Regions from separate parts of the Homo sapiens genome. Here all the other regions are linked to region 1. The links are contacts of gene promoters, found by promoter capture Hi-C in blood cells and fetal thymus (Javierre and others, 2016). All regions are on one chromosome and are shown on one strand. Each heading gives the region's core, a stretch centred on a gene start or on the middle of the fragment in contact. The rest is flanking DNA. Distances are from core to core; before and after follow the strand shown. Region 1 holds the start of RPL34 (ribosomal protein L34). Region 2 overlaps ELOVL6 (ELOVL fatty acid elongase 6). Region 3 holds the start of CASP6 (caspase 6). Region 4 overlaps MCUB (mitochondrial calcium uniporter dominant negative subunit beta).

Region 1 (4,547 bases), core at 541-3,040:
GGTTTAAAAAGTCTATGTTCGTGGCAGATTTGGCTCATGAATGTTTAGTAATTCTGAACCCTCTTAGTGGTAACCTCTCCTTGATTCATTCCATCGTCAAGGGATGAAAGCTCAGTAAGTTCAAGACTTGTTAGGCTGCACACAGTAAAAGGTACACTTACCCCTCGAAGTCTGCCTGGGCACACACCACATGCAGATTTTGGTGCTTTCCCAACCTTCTTGGTATAAAGGTAAACAATTCTATTACCAGGGGTTCGGGACCTAGAAAGTGAAACAGTCAGTAGGTCAGCATTTTGTAGAGTAAATGACAATATATACTTAAAATTTTCAGAAATACTTACAGCCTAGTTTTGTTAGAGGCTGTATTGTAGGAAAGCCTACGTCGGTATGTCAAACGCTGGACCATTCTGAGTGCCTAAATTAAGAATAGAGTAACATCAAATCTTTCCATTGTAAAAGTAAATAAAATCTCAAAACAGTATCATGTGGTCTATTTCATTCACATACATATCCTTGTATGTAACACCCTTAAATTAAGATGTATTATTCCACATTTTAAAACTACTTGTATTTAAAGGTGACTGATAAACAAGAGGCCAAGAATGTTAGCTTTCCTGATGGTAATCAAACGTGGCACTTCCTTAACGTTCTGATGACCAGGCTCCTTACTCAGAGTCTAATTTTGTTTGGAGTGGTGTCCAGAAAAGTGCCACGAGCCCAGTTGGAGAAACACCGCTTTAAACAAAGAGCACAAAAAGTGAGCTCTGAAGTCGAATCCTTAGCTATGCCATTTACTGGGAATATAAAGGGCAAGGAGCTAGCCTCCTTATCTCTAACATGGGAATTCTGTCTACTTTATACAGCTGTCATTAGGATTAAACGACGTGGGCTATCCGTCCCAACACAATGCCTGGCACATATCAGGGTTCAATGTCTTGCCCTAAAGCACCACCTGCGTAAAGGCATACCCTTTAATACTAATTTTGATATTACACAAGTTTCTTTGGGTTATGGCACCTGCTTTCTTCCCACTTCTGGAAACATCGTGATGTTATTTAGCAAATCGGTTATACAGATATGCATACGAGCAACTTCGTTAAGGGAACTACCCAACGTAAAACATAATCAATACTTGAACTAATTTAATCTTCCCATTCCACCCCTTGTAACCACCTCATTTGTTGTCACAAGCCTCTCACTAAAATTAAACTAAAACAGAATTACCAGACACCAAAACTTGACACGTAAAACCAGTGCGAGTGATTTATGAAGCCATTATTCTGTTTGCATCTCCAAAAGCAAGACAGAAACTTCTAACACATTTTTCTCTTCCTTGACATGGGCCTTGGACGCAGAAGCCAAATAGCGAAACCACCCGAACTCGCCGGACCCTGCCCTCCCAAAGACTAAGGACACGTACAGGCGTGCTGTGAAAACGTGGGTGTAAAATATGAAAACGTTTGGCGATTTTCCAGACTCAAACCGCCAAACCACAACTCGTTAGTCTCCAAACGCTACACTTGGAATGCAGCAAAGTCCCGGGTGGTGAGCTGTGGCTACTCACGGCTTTGGAGGTGCCACCAGGAACAAGGGATTTCCAAAGATCAAAGTAAGGAACTTCCTCACCACCAACCTCCCTGTTGTGCCCCTTACCCCTACACCAGCTCAAAGGACTGCTTCTGAGAGCTCTAGGCTTCCTCAGCTCCTCGGATGGCAGCCGATTGGTAAGGAAATAAAGACAGGGAAAAGAGAACAACATCCATACCTGCAGACAACGTCCCCGGAAGAGGAAGAAAAAAGCCTTTGCCAGTTCAAAGGTCAAATAGAATTGCGCAGGACAGGAAGTTGCGTCAGAGAGAGAGTATCCGTGTTGTACGGAAGCCGACGCACCTCTCCGACGTGGGCAGAGATGCAGGGAACCACCACGTTGTACGGCAACCAACGTGCCGCCCCTCTGTGGGCGGGGATTCACACTAGCTGTCTGTGTCAAGGCCACGCAGAAATCTATTGGAAATCGCTGTGGAAACAAACGCAAATGAAAAGCCGCAAAGAGCAAAGGTGGGACAAAATCAACTTCTTTCGTTGTCATGGACACTGCACTTTTAATCTAAAGGGCGCCAGCTCTGGCGTTAGACCTGGGTTTAAATCCCAACTCTTGACATTTATGGTTAAGGGACCTTCAAGGACCAGGGACCTTCAAGAACCTTCCCTTCTTCAACCTTCCCTTCTCTTTCCTTGTCATTTATTCAGAGCACAAGCTTTACAAACAAATTGGGATTTTAATCCAGTGTCTGCTAATTATTAGCTATGTTACTTTGAGCAAGCCCTTAAATCTCTAAAAGGAAGATATTAGGAACTACCGTGCCATGTTATGTCATGATCAAAGGCATTATGAAGTTAAAGCACTTAGCACAGGGTCTTATAGAGAGGAAGTGCTCAGTAAATGGTTGCTAATCTTATGATTATGTACAAAGAACTACTTGAGGCTTTTCATGGGTGGTAAAGTTTAACCTTTAAAACAGTATGTAAAATTTTACATTAAGCGCACGTGTGTATTTTTCTGAGAAGAGGGTCCCTGGCTTTCATCACCTTGTCAAAGGGATTCATGACCTCTAAAAAAGTAAAGAACTCTTTGCCTGGGCTGTAAAAGACAATTCTAAAAGGGGCCTTTAAGTTTTTAATCTTAGATCAGGCTCCCTGGAAACACACCTCGAAGAGACTTGAGTGTTGGCTTATGGGGAGCGCTCTTAGAATGCACCTCCAGGAAGCTGAGAAAGGCGGGGTCAGGTGATCCACAACGTGGTTGCTGTGAGGCAGCTGCATTGCCCCAGAAGAGAGGATTTGGATAGGATATCCCAGTACCCACTCAACTTTCCTTCTAGTATTTCTAATCCATCTAGCAAACCAAGAAAGCAGGCAAGTGACTGAGGGCATGTAGTCTGTCTTGAACTGTGAGGCCTATTGATTCTATCAAGCCTCACATCACTGCCATCTTTGTCACAACACCAGATGGAAGGCTCTGGTTATATCCTTCCCTCTGCTCACTCTCAAATAGCTGCTTCTCCCCCGACCTTGTCATCAGCTACTTCCCTCCTTTCCAGTCCTTTGATTTTTGTCCTCTGAAATCCTTTTCGTCTCTGTGCCAGGCATTGAGATGGAAGCTTGCATAGAGAGACAAATGTGGTTTTTGAATAAATGCACTAATGAATGTATTTACTTGCAATATGTTCTCTATATTTTAAGAGAGACTTTGCAGAGCAGAAGAGAACAGGAGATGGGAGCCCTTGGCACACTATGCTGTTGTTTACGTCTCTGTCCGTGCCTTCCCCCACCCAAGTAGATAAGAATAGTGGTCTCATTGTTGTAGTTTTCCCTTAAGGTACTTAACCCAGTTCCATAATACTATTTTTCCCTCTCTTTAAATTTGTATTTGCATTTTTTCTTGATCAGTCTTGAGAGAGATATGGCAATCTTATTAAAAACTTCAAAGACAGCCAGGTACAGTGGCCCATGCCTGTTAATCCTAGCACTTCGGGAGGCTGATACAGAAAGATCACTGAGACCTGTAGTTAAAGATCAGCCTGGGCAACATAGCGAGACGCCCATCTCTACAAATTTTTTTTTTTTAATTAGCCAGGTGTTGTAGCACACACCTTTAGTCCCACCTACTCAGGAGGCTGAGGCTGGAGGATCACTTGAGCCTAGAAGTTTGAGGCTGCAGTGAACCATGATTGTGCCACCATACTCCAGCCTGGGCAACAGAATGAGATCCTATCTCAATAATAATAATAATAATAATAAATGTATGAAACTTTGGTATATGACAAAGGTAATATATCAGATTGGTGGGGAAAGATTGGTGACTATTCAGTAAATGAAGTTGGGAAAAATGGTTATACATATGGAAAGAAAAAATTGTATCCTTAAGTCACTCTACACTGAAAAAAAAAACCTTAAATGAGTCAATAATAAGGCTTTAATTTATTAGGAAATATAGGTGACTATCTTATAGACGTTGGAGTAGAAGAGGATTTTTTAAACAAGGCACAAAAAGCACAAACTCAGAAAAGACCAATAAATCTGACCACATTACAATTAATAGCTTTTATCAAAAAACCCTTAAATAAAAAAATGTTAAACCTCAAAGTTTCCCAGTCCAAGCCAAAAAAAGTATGATAGGTTCACCTTATTTTAATTTCACAAAAATTTGTAAAATATTTATTAAGTGCACACAGAAATTAATGAACAGAGAACAAAGACAGATTAAAAAAACAAATGAGATTCTTTAGGCCGGGTGTGGTGGCTCATCCCTGTAATCCCAGCACTTTGGGAGGCCAAGGCAGGTGGATCGCTTGATGCCAGGAGTTCAAGACCAGCCTGGCCAACATGGCGAAACCCCGTCTCTACTAAAAATACAAAAATTATCTGGGCGTGGTGACAGGTGCCTGTAATCCCAGATACTCAGGAGGCTGAGGCACGAGAATCACTTGTGCCTGGGAGGTGGAGGTTGCAGGGAGCCAAGATTGCACCACTGCACTTCCACTGAA
Region 2 (4,547 bases), core at 796-3,295, 1.6 Mb before region 1:
GCCGGGGGATTCCGCCCGCCGCGTGCGCGAGCGCGCGTGCCCCGCGCCCTCCCGCCTGCCCTCTTCAACTGGAAACCAGAAACGCCGGCGCGCCTGTGGCCTGGGCGGGTTGGTGCAGTAGGAGCTGGTGCCACGGGGCCGCAGCTGCGAAAAGGGGGTTTCAACTTCCTGTCCTCCAGCCCCCTGGAGTCGCCGGCCAGTGTCGGGAGGCCCGGCCGCCGCTTCCTTCTCCTCCCGCCCGGCCGGAGCGCGCCCACTCCCAGCTTCCCGCGGGCTGGTCCGGGCCCCAATGGCCATTTGCGGCGGCTGCCGGGCGGAGCCCGCCTCCTGGGCCGCGCGCACCGGCGGGGCAGGCCTGCTTGGGGTGAGCTGCGGCGTGGCTGGTGGCGGCGGTGGGCTAGGGGCCCAAGGGCCGCGTCTGGCCCGAGCCGGAGCCTAAGAGGCGGGGACGCGGGCCGCTCGGAAGGACTGGAAGTGCAGCAGCCACACAGGCACAGGGCTGGTGCCCTCCCGGGCCGCTGAGGCCAGGGGGTGCAGGGGTGGGTCCGGAAGGAGGTTGGACACTAAGGGTCGAGACCGCAGATAGACCTCGGCGTTTCGGGGCAGCCGAGGCCCCTCGAGCCCCACCGCCCGGGGTCCTTCTCTGGATGCACTTCCTCCTCCCGCTTAGGGGGTGGTGCTGGAGGCGGGGAGGGGGCGGTGGCCGGAGCCGGCGGGCGCCGGAACCGCGCTGCTGGCTAGCCCCGGGCCCGGGTCTTCTCCGCACATGTTTGTCATATCCTCCAGCCGGCCTGTTCGGGCCCACAGTCCTCCCGCATTAGCCTGTGTGGTCAGTGTGGTCAGCATTTGCTTCTGTGCCGAATCTCTGACTTGCTGCGTCCTGGTTTAACCTGCTCTTCCGGAGTCCGCTTTCCCTCGCTTTGCTGGCTGACCCCATTCACTGTACGCCCGCCATTCCTAGCCCACTGCAGTCGATACTGCCTCTTATTTACTTGTTGCTTTTTCTCTGAGGCCACTTCCTAGGCCTGCTTCAGGTACCATTTCCCGCCTCTTCTCTCCATTCACTCAGTACTGAGCCAGACAGGTCTCAGCCCTCGTGGGACTGAAAATGACAAAAATGTGCCAACGTATCTACTCCTGTTAGGTTCTGACCACTGTTTCCTCCTAGTTCTTTATCTGTACCTTTCTTCTGGCAATATCCTTTACTGTTATATACATGGTTATTAACTTACAGACCATCAGCTCTTCAGGTTACGGTTCTTGTCATCCCACTCTTGATTCTGCAAAGCACCTAGCAGAGTGCTTTGCATAAGGCACATTCTTGAGAAAATGTCCAGTGAGTTGAAATGGTGATTGGTGCCCATTTTATTGCCAGCACTACTCGTTAATACCCGAAGGTTAACAGGCTAGAACTTGCATACCGTGGCAGAGTCACATCTTGGGATTTTTCCCTTCCTGGCTTCTGCTCTCTGTTGATGTTATGTTCTTAGATTGCTTATTGCAGTCAAAGAACCCTGCTGGCTGTTACCCCTCCCTTGCAACTCTTCCTGACCCTAATTGTCTTACTTTCATGTTTTTTTTTAAATGCCAGATTTTGTGCATTTCTCCCAATATCCCAGGGTGCCCAATTTTATCTCTCCTCCCTCCCCAAAAACTGTACAGCCAAAAAGACTTTAAACACTTTTTAAAATTTAATTTTATTAGCCGGGTGTGGTGGCTCCTGCCTGTAATCCCAGCACTTTGGGAGGCTGAGGTGGGTGGATTACCTGACGACAGGAGTTCGAGACCAGCCAGGCCAATATGGTGAAACCCCATCTCTACTAAAAATACAAAAAAATTAGCCGAGCGTGGTGGCGGGTGCCTGTAATCCCAGCTACTCGGGAGGTTGAGGCAGGAGAATTGCTTGAACCCGGGAGGTTCAAATTAAAGCTTTTAGTTTTTATTTTTAATAGAATCCAGCTAATGCAGGACAAAAAGTCTTGAACCAGATTTTCTTTTCACTCCCTTTTTAATAGGAGAAGGGAACTCCATAACCAAGGCTTAGACCCTCTTGAGGAGAGAGGAACTTGAGGAAACCATAAAATCTTACCTTTTTCAGACTCATTAACTTAAAATGGTTTGAAATAGCTTCTGGAGGAAAAACATGATATAGTGAAGCTTCTACTCTGTCTTTTGGGAATTTATGGTTGTCCTTATAAATCTCTTCTTAGTAACAGGCAAAACTTGTTAATTTAGAGAATTAAAACATCCTCTCTCAAAAGTGAACTACATTGGCTTTTGAAGAACTGTGAGAATGGCCAGGAGTAGTATTTTGCCAGTATGCTGCCTTTGCTAACTAGCATCATTTAAGAGGACCTAAAATAAGAATACTTTATTAAACATACGCTATAATCCATACTTACTAACCATAGCGCAAATTAATGTTAACATACCCTATAATCCATACTTACTAACCATAGCACGTGTTAATGGAATGGGGCCCGACTTTTGGAGTAGCATTTGTATAAACCCTAAAGGGTTCAACTGAGGCTAGTTTTCAAGTTTATTGCTGCTTTAATGAATCATTAACCTCATACTCATTGGCCTAGCCATGAAAGTAAATACTGCAGACTTTTTTTACTTTGCTAGCAAAAAGTTTCATATATAATAGGTTAGAATAGCAATTGAAATGCAAAGTAATAAGTGTATTCCCTTGTAGAATCATCCTGGGCCTCATCTTGAAACTACATGTCCAGTGAAAAATATCCTGTCTGGTTATATTATCTGGTCAATGAGAGTTTATTACATGAGGTAGAGAAAAATGTCTGCTCATAGGTCCAAATAGGAGTTTTGAATTCTAATTTTCACTGAAAAGTCCTTGCAATTTTACAACATTGAAAATAGAGACATTTTGCTCTTTTATGAGATGTCTGGCCTTTACCTGTTTTTCTCACTAAGAGCTGACTTAAGTTGGAAGTGCTGCTAGCCAGGGAGCAAAATCACCTGGTGATTGCTAAGGCGACATATAATTCATTGAGTGAGAAGGGAAGCTGGGCTCTCTCTGCCTTCTCTTTCAGCAGCCTGCCAGGTTTGTGCTAACAGCAGTGGATGCTAGTTGCTCCAGTTGTAATTGTCTAGCCAATGATGATTATCTTCTGATGTCGGCTGACACGGTGCCCACCAATAGGAAAGCAGGAGGCCTGTGCTGACTGCTGTAACATTATGTATGTGAGGTGACGTCTTCAAAGGGCTTGCCTAGAACTTCATGAAACCCTCCCCCTCTCCTGGCATTCTCCACACATCCAGCCTTTCAAAGCTTTATATATTTTTCTGACTTTTCTCCCCACTCACTCCCTTGGTGGTGTAAAAGGGTTTACTTGTTTTAACATTTTGTATTCTGTATTATAGAGTCTATAAGATAGTATAGGAATTTTAAGAATTAAATGCTGTTCAGCTGAGGAAGCCTTTTTATTCACAAATTTGTTTTTACCAAAGGTAAAAATGGAGTGAAACATTTTATTTTATTTTGTTTTATTTTTGAGACAGGGTCTCACTCTGTTGCCCAGGCTGGAGTGCAGTGGCACAATCTTGGCTCACTGCAACCTCTGCCTCCGGGTTCCAGTGATTCTTATGTCTCAACCTCCCAAGCAGCTGGGATTACAGGTGCCTGCCATGACACCAAGCTAATTTTTGTATTTTTAGTAGAGATGGGAATTCACCGTGTTGGTCAGGTTGGTCTTGAACTCCTGACCTCAAGTAATCCGCCCACCTCGGCCTCCGAAAGTGCTGAGATAACAGGCTTGAGCCACTGCAACCGGCCGTGAAACATTTTAAAAGGAGTTGTACATCTATATCTTTTTTGTAGGTGAAGTTTGGAAAGTAACACGATGTACAATTTCATGATTAAAGAACATAAAAAGCACTAAAAACCTGTGTTAGCATTTAACTCAAATATAGCAGCATAAAAAATATAGCAGCATAATGTTAATGAAACTGTTCAAATGCAGACATAGTATTTGGCTGTTGTTTTTCATTTAGTGAGGATTGCTTTGAATTGCTTCCTGAAGTCTTCCTTGCAACCTTCTACATTCATTTGTAAGAAAAATGGCTGGAAAACAGTGCATCTGTGACTATGGAACAGAGTAGGCCAGAGTTTCATTTCATCATTAACATTGCAGCAACAAATTTGGTCAGCTCTGTAGGAATATAGTGTGTCTATATTGTACTCATGTCACTTGCTGTTTATTTTGAGGTATCACAGTTCATATTGATTTAGGATTAAAACTTGTGTGAGGATCATAACATGACATTCAATAATTTTTAGAAAGCACTGGGATGTAGGCATATGTACTAGGTTAAGAGTGAGAAGAATGAGAAAATACATAGAGAAAAAACGTGTAATCTGTGTGGGGTCCTAGAAAATAATGTAAAGTTGTGCTGGAGCTTTGATATGAACTTTCATGTATCTTTTAATAAATTATAAATATTCATGCAATTCTTGTTTAGGATTCCAAAGGATGAAAGCCAGCTTAATGCAAAATATTTTATGATTATATTATCCATCTGTG
Region 3 (4,547 bases), core at 1,361-3,860, 1.1 Mb before region 1:
TATATATGTATTTTATATATATTATATATATATATATATATATATATATATATTTTTTTTTTTTTTTTTTTTTTTTTTTTAAAGAGTGTCTTACTCTGTCACCCAGACTGGAGTGCAGTGGCACAGTCAGCTGACTGCAGCCTCAAACTTGGGCTCAAATAATCCTGCCATCTTAGTGTCCTGAGTTGCTGGGAATACAGGCATGTGCCACCACTCTTGGCTAATTAAAAAAAAAAAAAAATTGTAGAGACAGGGTCTTGCATTGTTGCCTAGGCTGGTCTCAAAACTCCTGGCCTCAAGCAATCCACCTTGGCCTCCCAAAGTGCTGGGTTTACAGGCATGAGCCACTGTGGCTGATACATGTACTTTTAATTTTTCGTTTTTCTTTTTTTCCCCCTCTAGTCTCTAGTTACATACCGTAAGTGGATATTTTGACCTCCCATGAATCACAAATGTTCTTAATGGCATCTCGAATGATGAATCCTTTCCAGAAGATTTTCAATTTACTTTGCTCAGAACTATCAGAGGAATCATGATGACAGCTATAGCCTTATGAAATGTATTTTGTAAATAAGACTTGAAAGTCAAAATTTCTCCTTGATCCCTGGGCTTCAGAATGGATGTTGTGTTAGCAAGCACGATAACAGCATCAGTCTCTGTACATCTCTATCAGAACTCTTGGATGACCAGGTGTATTGTCAATGAGGAGTAATATTTTGAAAGGAACCTTTCTTCTGAGCACTAGAGCTCAACAGTGGGCTTTAAATATTCTCTAAGCCATGCTGTAAATAGATGTGCTGTCACTAACTAGCCTTTGTTGGTCCATTTATAGATCATATTTAGCATAATTCTTAAGGGCACTAGGATTTTCAGAATGGTAAAGGAATGTTGGCTTTAAAGTCATCAGTTGTATTAGCCCCTAACAAGAGCATCAGCCTGTTCTTTGAAGCTTTGAAGACAGGCATTGACTTCTCTCTAGCTATGAAAGTCTTAGATGGAATCTTCTTCCAATAGAAGGCCGTTTCATATACATTTAAGATCTGTTGTTTTGGCTGGGCACGGTGGCTCACACCTGTAATCCCAGCACTTTGGGAGACCGAGGCGGGCAGATTGCTCAAGGTCAGGAGTTCAAGACCAGCCTGGCCAAACATGGTGAAACTCTGTCTCTACTAAAAATACAAAATTAACCTGGACATGGTGGCACATCCTGTAATCCCAGTTACTTGGGAGGCTGAGGCAGAAGAATCGTTTGAACCCAGGAGGCAGAGGTTGCAAAAGATCGCACCACTGTACTCCAGCCTTGGTGACAAAGCAAGACTGTCTCAAAAACAAAAGATTGTTGTTTAGTGTAGCTGCCTTTATCAATGATTTTAGCTAGATCTGGATAACCTGATGCAGCTTCTACGTTAGCACCTGCTGCTTCACCTTGCACTTTTATGTCATGAAGATAGTTTCTTTCCTTAAACCTCAGGAACCATCCTCTCTGCTAGCTTCCAGCTTTTCTTTTGCAATTCCCTCACCTCTCTCAGCCTCCATAGAATTGAAGAGTTAGGGCCTTGCTCTGGATTAGGCTTTGGCTTAAGGGAATGTTGTGGCTGTTTTTATCTTCTATCCAGACCAACTAGAACTTTCTCCATATCAGCAATAAGGCTGTTTAGCTTTATTGTCTTTTGTGTGTTTACTGGAGTAGCATTTTTAATTTCCTTCAAAATTTTTTCCTTTGCATTCATGACTTGGCTTTTCTCCTTTGCACTCACAACTTGGCTAACTGGAGCAAGAAGCCTAGCTTTCTGCCTACCAACATTACTTCCTCACTAACTTAATCATGTTTGCTTTTGATTTAAAGTGACAGGCTCTTCCTTTCATTTGGACACTTAGAGGCCTTTGTAGGATTATTAGTTGGCCTAATTTCAAAATTGTGTTTCCAGGAATAGGGAGGCCCCAGGAGGGGGAGAGAGAAGGGAAAGTTCGGTGGAACAGTCCAAACACATACAGGGCTTATGGATTAATTTCCCCTTCCTTTATGAGCGCGGTTCATGGTGCCCCAAAACAATTGCAATAATATTAAAGATTACTGATCACAGATCACAACAGCAGACATAATAACAATGAAAAATTTTGAAATATTGCGAGAGTACCAAAATGTGACACAGAGACACAAAGCGAGCCAATGTTGAAATACAGGCAGTATCTGCTAAGCGGTATAAAACAATCTATGCCTGTACCTCTAGAAAGTACAGGCATAGCAAAGTAAGGAATAGCAAATGTTTGGGGCAGCTGGGATTAAATGAGTCCGAGCTCACACAAGTGATGTGAAATTGCCTCGGGCTAGGCGGTCTGTGTGTCCCCCCGGGTGGCAACTGGCATGTCCCCAGGGCACGGTTAGTCCCAGCGGGCCTGGAGGCGAAGACCGCGTACCTCTCCCTGCCCCCGCGCTCTTGGTCCCCGCGGGCTCCGGAGCGACTGGGAGGAGCTTTAACTCTGGGAAGGACCAGCCCGATCCACGGGAGCCCGGGCGGCGCGCAATCAGAACCAACTGGCCCCACGCTCGGGGGCAGGGGGCGGGGCCGCCGAGGAAGGGCCGAGGGCGGGGCCGGGCCCGGGAGCCTGTGGCTTCAGGAAGAGGAGGGCAAGGTGTCTGGCTGCGCGTTTGGCTGCAATGAGCTCGGCCTCGGGGCTCCGCAGGGGGCACCCGGCAGGTAGGCAGGGGGCGTCGACTGGGCACCGAGCAGGTCTGCGTCTTGCTCCGGCTGGAGGGGAAACGAGGGTTAGTGGACCGGGCGCGCGGACCGGAGTGGGGCCGCGGGTTCCTTCGGCTTTGCAGGGCGGCCTGGAGAAGTTGCACTCTTGGATTGAAGCGCTCAGGGCGGGTGGGGACGGTTTCGCGCTTCAGTCTAAGAAACACTCGGGGACCTGGCTGCCGCCTCCTGGCGGTCCCGAGTAGCGACGCCGGCGCCGGGGCGTGCCCCTGCCGCCTTTGTCCTCCGGGGCGATGAGCGCTTTCGGGGCGCCCCGGCTGTTTAAACCTTAAAAGGCTGTCCCCACGCGGGCCTGGCGTTCCCCCACACCTGGCCGTTTGAAATGTTGGGGGTTGGATCTTTTGTTTGCTCACTTCGAAAAGTGAAAAGGAGGGGTTGTTCCGCCGAGTCATAATGAAAACATAACAGGCCCGCGGGGTGCCCGGGCCAAGACCCTGGGTCCTCCCGGGCTTCAGCTGGAGGCGGCCAGTTCCTGGCGGCCAGCACACCCCGGTATCTCTCTTCTTCATCCAGGAAACCTGCTGCTGTCTGTCGGTTTGAGCCAAAACCACAATAACTTTTTTCTGCAAAGTAATCAACTGCTAAGAGCGTACGTTCTGTCACTTATTACTGGTAAAGTTTAGAAACTTCAAGCCTGGCCAGAGTGAAACAAACAAAAAGGTCGAAACGCCTGCAGTTGGCCGGCCGTGGTGGCTCACGCCTTGTAATCCCAACACTTTGGGAGGCCGAGGCGGGCGGATCACCAGAGGTCGGGAGTTCTCGACCAGCCTAACTAACACGGTGAAACCCCGTCTCTACTAAAAATACAAAAAAATTAGCCAGGCCTGGGCGCAAGCTACTGGGGAGGCTGAGACAAGAGAATCGTTTGAACCCTGGAGGTGGAGGTTGCAGTGAGCCGAGATCGCCCCACTGCACTCCAACCTCGGCGACAGAGTGAGACTTCGAATCAAGAAGAAAAAAAAAAAAAAAGAACGAAACGCCTGCAGTTGGTTAGAGTGCCTTTGTTTAAGAACTCTTTATATTTTGCTGCACAAAGGAAATGGTGCTCCAGAGGCAAGCTGTAAAAGTCACATGGTCGTAGAGGAGGTAGATAGGTAGCCTTGTCCTGGAGGCACAGTGCAGGGTCCAGTTGCAGTCTCTAGGGGCGGGAAGCCGGGGCTTTCCTTCACTCACCTGCTCCCTTCCTCTTCTTCCTCCACCGCACTCCCCAGTGCATGTTCTAGGCCTGATGGAGGTTACTCTACATAGGGTTACTAAATACATTGTTGATGGAGCCGATGGGTAGATTTTCATAGAGAGTGCAGTGAATGAAGACGATGACAGTAGAATGACCGAAGTCGTTTGGGAAGTTGAACAAAGTTTAGAAAGGTAGCCGGTCTCGGGTGGGAGGGGCTGCGTGGGGATGGGCCTACAGAGACTTTGGAATCTGTAGGTGGGCTGGCTTTCAATCCCAGCTTCACTTTGCCGACCTTGGCACGCCTGGCCCACTTTCTCTGTCCCTGTTCCTGAGCTGTGGAGCTGTGAGATAAGGTATCTAAGGCATCAGGCCATCAACAAATGGTAGCTGGCAGGATTATCTGGAGGGACTATCAAATTAGAGTGAGGTGAAAAAAGGAATGATTAGTTTTGTAAAACCTAAGCTGATTTAAGGAATAAGGAGGTGGCAGTTACATTATCCTGCAAAGGAAGAGAAGTGAAAAGAGGGCCAGACACAGTGGTGGGCGCCTCTAGTCCCAGCTACTGGGGAGACTGAGGCAGGAGAATCGCTTGAAACCTGGAGGTGGACTT
Region 4 (4,547 bases), core at 2,048-4,547, 1.0 Mb before region 1:
TCAAGATGCTAAGGAAAATAATTACCAACCTAGAATATTATGCTCAGGAAAATTACTTCAGGCTTGCTGTGATTTGATTGTGTCCCCCAGAGTCCATGTGTTGGAAACCTAATGCCCAATGCAACGGTGCTGGGAGGTGGGATCTAATGGGAGGTGCTTAGGTCATGAGGGCTCCACCTTCATAAATGGATTGATGCCAATTATAAAAGGGCCTGAGGCTGCGGGTTTGATTGAGCTTTCTCTCTCCGCCTCTTGCCCTTTCACCTTCTGCCATGGGATAATGCAGCAAGAAGAACCTGACCAGATGCGACCTCTCAATCTTGGATTTTCCAGCCTCCAGAACTGTGAACTAAATACATTTCTGTTCATTATTAATTACCCAGTCTATGGTTCTGTTACAGCAGCACAAAAGAGATTACAGCAAGGCTGAAAGAAATGAGTTTTTCAGGTATAATCAAGATTATGGCTTATTTCCACAGATTTTTGCTAAAGAACTTCTTCAGGAAGAAGAGAACTAAACTCAAGTGGAAGCTGAATAGAACACTATTATGAGCTGAACTGTGCCCCACCCCCTGCAAATTCATATATTGAAGTCTTAACCCCTAGTACCTCAGAATGTGACTGTACTTTAAAGAGGTTAAGTTAAAATGAGGTCATTAGTATAGGCCCTAATCCGACATAACTGGTGTCTTTACAAGAAGTGGTGATTTGGACAGACATGTACACCCAGAAGAAAGACGGTGTGAGGACACAGGGAGAAGACAGCCATTTACAAAACAGCCATGTACAAGCCAAGAAGGCTTCAGAAGAAACCAACTGAGCCAACACCTTGAACTTTAACTTTTGGCCTACAGAAGGGTGGCGAGGAAGGTTTCTAAACAGTGGAGGCGCAATTAGTGTGGGTGTCATAGCCCAAATGGGATGAAGACGGCCTCCACATGGGAAATAGGCTCAGAAAAAAATGTTGGAGCCCAGTTGGGGTAAGAAAGCCATCTCTGCAGGGGAAGGAGTGGTAGTGGAGATGAAAGACTGTCACATGCAGAAGAAAAAAATATATCAAGAATAATGGAAGTCAGATTTATCCTGTGCAAGAATGGAACTACAATTATGGAAAGGGAGTAGAATAAACCCTGTAGTGTTAGACTGAAGTACTGGTGTGAATTCATGGTTTTTAATGTGTAATAATGTAAAGAAATATAATTAAATGAAATTAAATATAAAATTTTTAAAAGATGCAAATGTTTAATGTACGTGTGTATGTAAGTATAGAAATTTTAAATTTTACATATTTATGTTTTCATACTGACATATATATGTATATGTATATTCTCTTTCTGAGAGAGCCTATGAGCAGTGGCACTTCTAATAACATCTAGCATCTAGCTCTTGGCACCAGATACTATGCTTACCTAAGAGGAAGCAAGCCTCCTTGGAGAAATGGCTATTCTAGGGCTGGGCATGGATAAGGACAAAATGAACCTAGAGCATCTTGCTGTACTAGAAAGCAAGGAAGTGCTCAATGGATGATGGAAGACTTATCAAAAGAACCCAGAAGGCAGGTCAAAGGGTGTCCCTGTGGTAAAATCTGGAACAATTTTTAGCATTAAATAATGATAGTAACAAATTATAATCCACTGAAGGAGATAGGAAACCATGAGTGTATTCTGACATAATTAACTGAATAAATTTAAAGTTTAATAAGGAATGAGATATTTACACAGTTTTAAAATGCCTTCACACAAAAGCATTAATCCCAAAGGAAAAATAATAACTTCAAAGGGAAGAAGCCTGACAGATACCATCTTAATTGATCAAAATTAATATTATCAGTAATGGGGTGAGTTGAAATCATGCAATGAGAATACATGGGACACTTTTGAGATATTCCCGACAAAGATGCTATATAATCTGAAGCAAATCACAAGGAAATACCAGACAAACCCAAACAGAGGCATTCTACAAAATAATTGTAATCTTTAAAAGAGTCAAATCATGAATGTCAAAGAATGTTGTACTGATCCAGAGTGGAGGAGACATGACAACTAAATTAAACTGTGATTCTGAACTTCTGCCAATAAAGAACATTATTGGAAAAATTGGCAAGATTTTAATGAGGTCTAAAAATTAGATGGTGGTTATGTACTAACATTAATTTTCCTATTTTGATGGTTGTTTGTCATTAAGTTGGAGAATGTTCTTATGTTTCAGGGGAACTGGCATCAAGTTTGCAATGTATTCTCAAATAGTTCAGAAACAAAATAGTCTTCCCACTGTGGTTACAACTTTCTTTATGTTATGTTTGAGACTGTTTCAAAATCACACAATTCTGAGAGACTGGTAGGCCAGGGTAAAAAAAATTAATAATTCAAAAACAATAGGTTTACAACACCAAAATTACCATATACAAAGATAAGTGATTAATAACAAGGGGTCAAATATTAAACCTTTTTTGCATGCCAGTAGGAAACTATGGTTACTTGGGAAATTGAAAATAAAAAATTTTTTAAAGCAAAGACACTCCTGTACAAGTTTTTATTTAGAAACCCCAAGAATATTGACAATCCTCAGACATGTTAGTAAAGCTTAAAAGAGAAACTACCATACCCTGTAACAACCCTTTTTAGAGGGTTATTATTAAAATTCTGAAAATCTTACACAAACCCATCATGCATGCAGAGCTGAATTTCAAGAATGACTCACCAAAACTCAGGTCTTCCTTTTAGTTTACACCTCACCTCAAACCCATCTTGAGGAGCCTACCATTCCCCCCTTGATAGGGGGATATGATAGTTTTGAATAAACAAATGGTATGAACCAAATCTGTTGCTTTTCATTTAATCCAGTTAGCCGGGCTGCTCCTCCATACCACACCTGGGTTCAGATTCCCCAAATCAGGCCCCACTTCTCAAATCTAAGGATTCTCAGGATGAGTCCTTAGATTTAAGAAGTATAATGAGTCCTAGCTGGACGCAGTGGCTCATGCGTGTAATCCGAACACTTTGGGAGGCTGAGGCAGGAAGATTATTTGAGCCCAGGGGTTCAAGACTAGCCTGGGCAACAGGGTGAAACCATATTTCTATTTTAAAAAATCATAATAAATGAGTCCCAGGCAGGAAAAATGAAATTAACTCTGTCCCTGACACAATGTGATGAAACTACAGAACCCCAGAAACAAAAAATTCTTATAATGCCTGAAAAAAAAAGAGATTGCCTACAAAGGAAAGCAATTAAATTTACATAAGGTGAATTAATAGACGGCAGAGGCAAAGGAGTATCTTCAAAGTTCTGAGGGGAAATAACAATCAACCTTGAATTCTATAGTCAGATAACCTACCATTTTGAACAAAACTGAGACTGAGCGACTAAAACATGTTTACTGAAAGCATTTTGCAGGAAAAAGGAAATCAAACACATAAGAAAACAGGATGTAAGAAAACTTACACACCACAGGATGTAAAACTAAATGAAGAGAGAAAAAAAGTGTGTACTTCCAAACCAATAGAGATAAAGGAGTATAAAAAAACATTTAGCCAAATTATGAGAAGATAAGAAAGGAGAAAGAAAATGAGCAAAGGAAAATCAGGATGAACAGAATGCACAGAATAAGGTGGTAGATAGATATCCACATTTGTCTGATATCACAATAAATGTAAACAGATTAAACTCAACAGTTAAAAGGACAGAAGTTGTTGGATTTATAACAACACAGACTGAGGGTTTAACTACTCATAGGCTTTCATTGAAGGCACTACTCAGCTGTAGTGAACAAAATGTAACACGAACAAGGAATAAGAATGCATGAGAAATTCTGAACAAGCAAATTGGTAAAATATATGCATAAAATAAATAAAAACTCCATCATTTTAAATGTTGTTTTCCGTGTCACTTAATATAGCGTACTTTTGTACTCCACAGAAACAAGAAATTCTTGTGTGAGGCAAGAAAAATGGTGCTTTTGGGGTTAGGCTGCTTTGTACTCCTCAGTTACATAGTTGTTTTGCTTTGAAGCTTGTCTTTGGGTTCATTAGTTCTACATCCTGTGGTGCATCATGATCTTTTGTAGAATCTCACACTGAGCGTCAAGCTTTAATGATTTTTTTTTTTTTTTTTGCTTCTCTGTACCAAAAAAAAAAAAAAAAATCAAACTGCTATATAGGAGCTCTCTTTTGATGAACTCTTACTTGCCTCTAGATCTATGTATCTCCCTAACAAAAACTGCATTTTGTAGCACAGACTAGAAAGTTATCTTAATATTTCAGTCTCAGGTACTACATGAATCATCACTGTGAAAATAAATTTTTTCTTCTTCTGGTCTGGACAGCCCAAGACGAGTAGTTAATCCACAAAATGACTGAAACAGAACAGAAACAGAATACGTTTGGCATTTGGCTAATACAGTACAGAAACAGAATACATACATACAATATTTGGCTAGCAGCCAACAATAACTTCCACCTACTGTAATTTCTCACCAGCTCCCTCTCAGCTAGACTGTATTTACATCCCTTCTGAGAACCAGGCATTTAAGTCAGTCATCCCTTTGGAAC

The links. The method cuts DNA at HindIII sites, captures the fragments that hold promoters and counts their contacts. A CHiCAGO score of 5 or more calls a contact.
Region 2: a contact is called between a fragment that was not itself captured here and the fragment with the promoter of RPL34 in region 1, in 1 of 17 cell types (total CD8 T cells). The highest score is 5.6, in total CD8 T cells.
Region 3: the fragment with the promoter of CASP6 here is called in contact with the fragment with the promoter of RPL34 in region 1 in 13 of 17 cell types (naive CD8 T cells, non-activated CD4 T cells, fetal thymus and 10 more); the score reaches 16.9 in naive CD8 T cells.
Region 4: a contact is called between a fragment that was not itself captured here and the fragment with the promoter of RPL34 in region 1, in 1 of 17 cell types (naive CD4 T cells). The highest score is 5.3, in naive CD4 T cells.

What each region holds. Positions count from the first base shown.
Region 1 is chr4:108,617,819-108,622,365 of GRCh38, reverse strand. It overlaps RPL34 (ribosomal protein L34), which reads right to left and starts at 1,790. Exons shown (of 5, transcript NM_001319236.2): 1 at 1,766-1,790; 2 at 342-415; 3 at 162-261. The coding sequence starts at 406. RPL34-DT (RPL34 divergent transcript) reads left to right here and starts at 1,909. Exons shown (of 4, transcript NR_026968.1): 1 at 1,909-2,058. RefSeq lists enhancers at 1,778-1,827, 1,053-2,252. The HindIII fragment of the contact is 3,742 bases long and covers 1-2,260 here.
Region 2 is chr4:110,192,575-110,197,121 of GRCh38, reverse strand. The region is part of intron 1 of ELOVL6 (ELOVL fatty acid elongase 6); the gene reads left to right. Among named protein-coding and RNA genes, the nearest start is that of ELOVL6, 3.8 kb to the left of the region's middle. RefSeq lists silencers at 1-470, 671-780 and an enhancer at 515-809. The HindIII fragment of the contact is 228 bases long and covers 1,932-2,159 here.
Region 3 is chr4:109,701,508-109,706,054 of GRCh38, reverse strand. CASP6 (caspase 6) reads left to right here and starts at 2,610. Exons shown (of 7, transcript NM_001226.4): 1 at 2,610-2,699. The coding sequence starts at 2,660. RefSeq lists enhancers at 2,189-2,238, 3,129-3,188, 3,949-4,008 and silencers at 2,399-2,688, 2,839-2,948. The HindIII fragment of the contact is 4,197 bases long and covers 952-4,547 here.
Region 4 is chr4:109,648,288-109,652,834 of GRCh38, reverse strand. The region is part of intron 1 of MCUB (mitochondrial calcium uniporter dominant negative subunit beta); the gene reads right to left. Among named protein-coding and RNA genes, the nearest start is that of CASP6, 53 kb to the left of the region's middle. The HindIII fragment of the contact is 1,426 bases long and covers 2,585-4,010 here.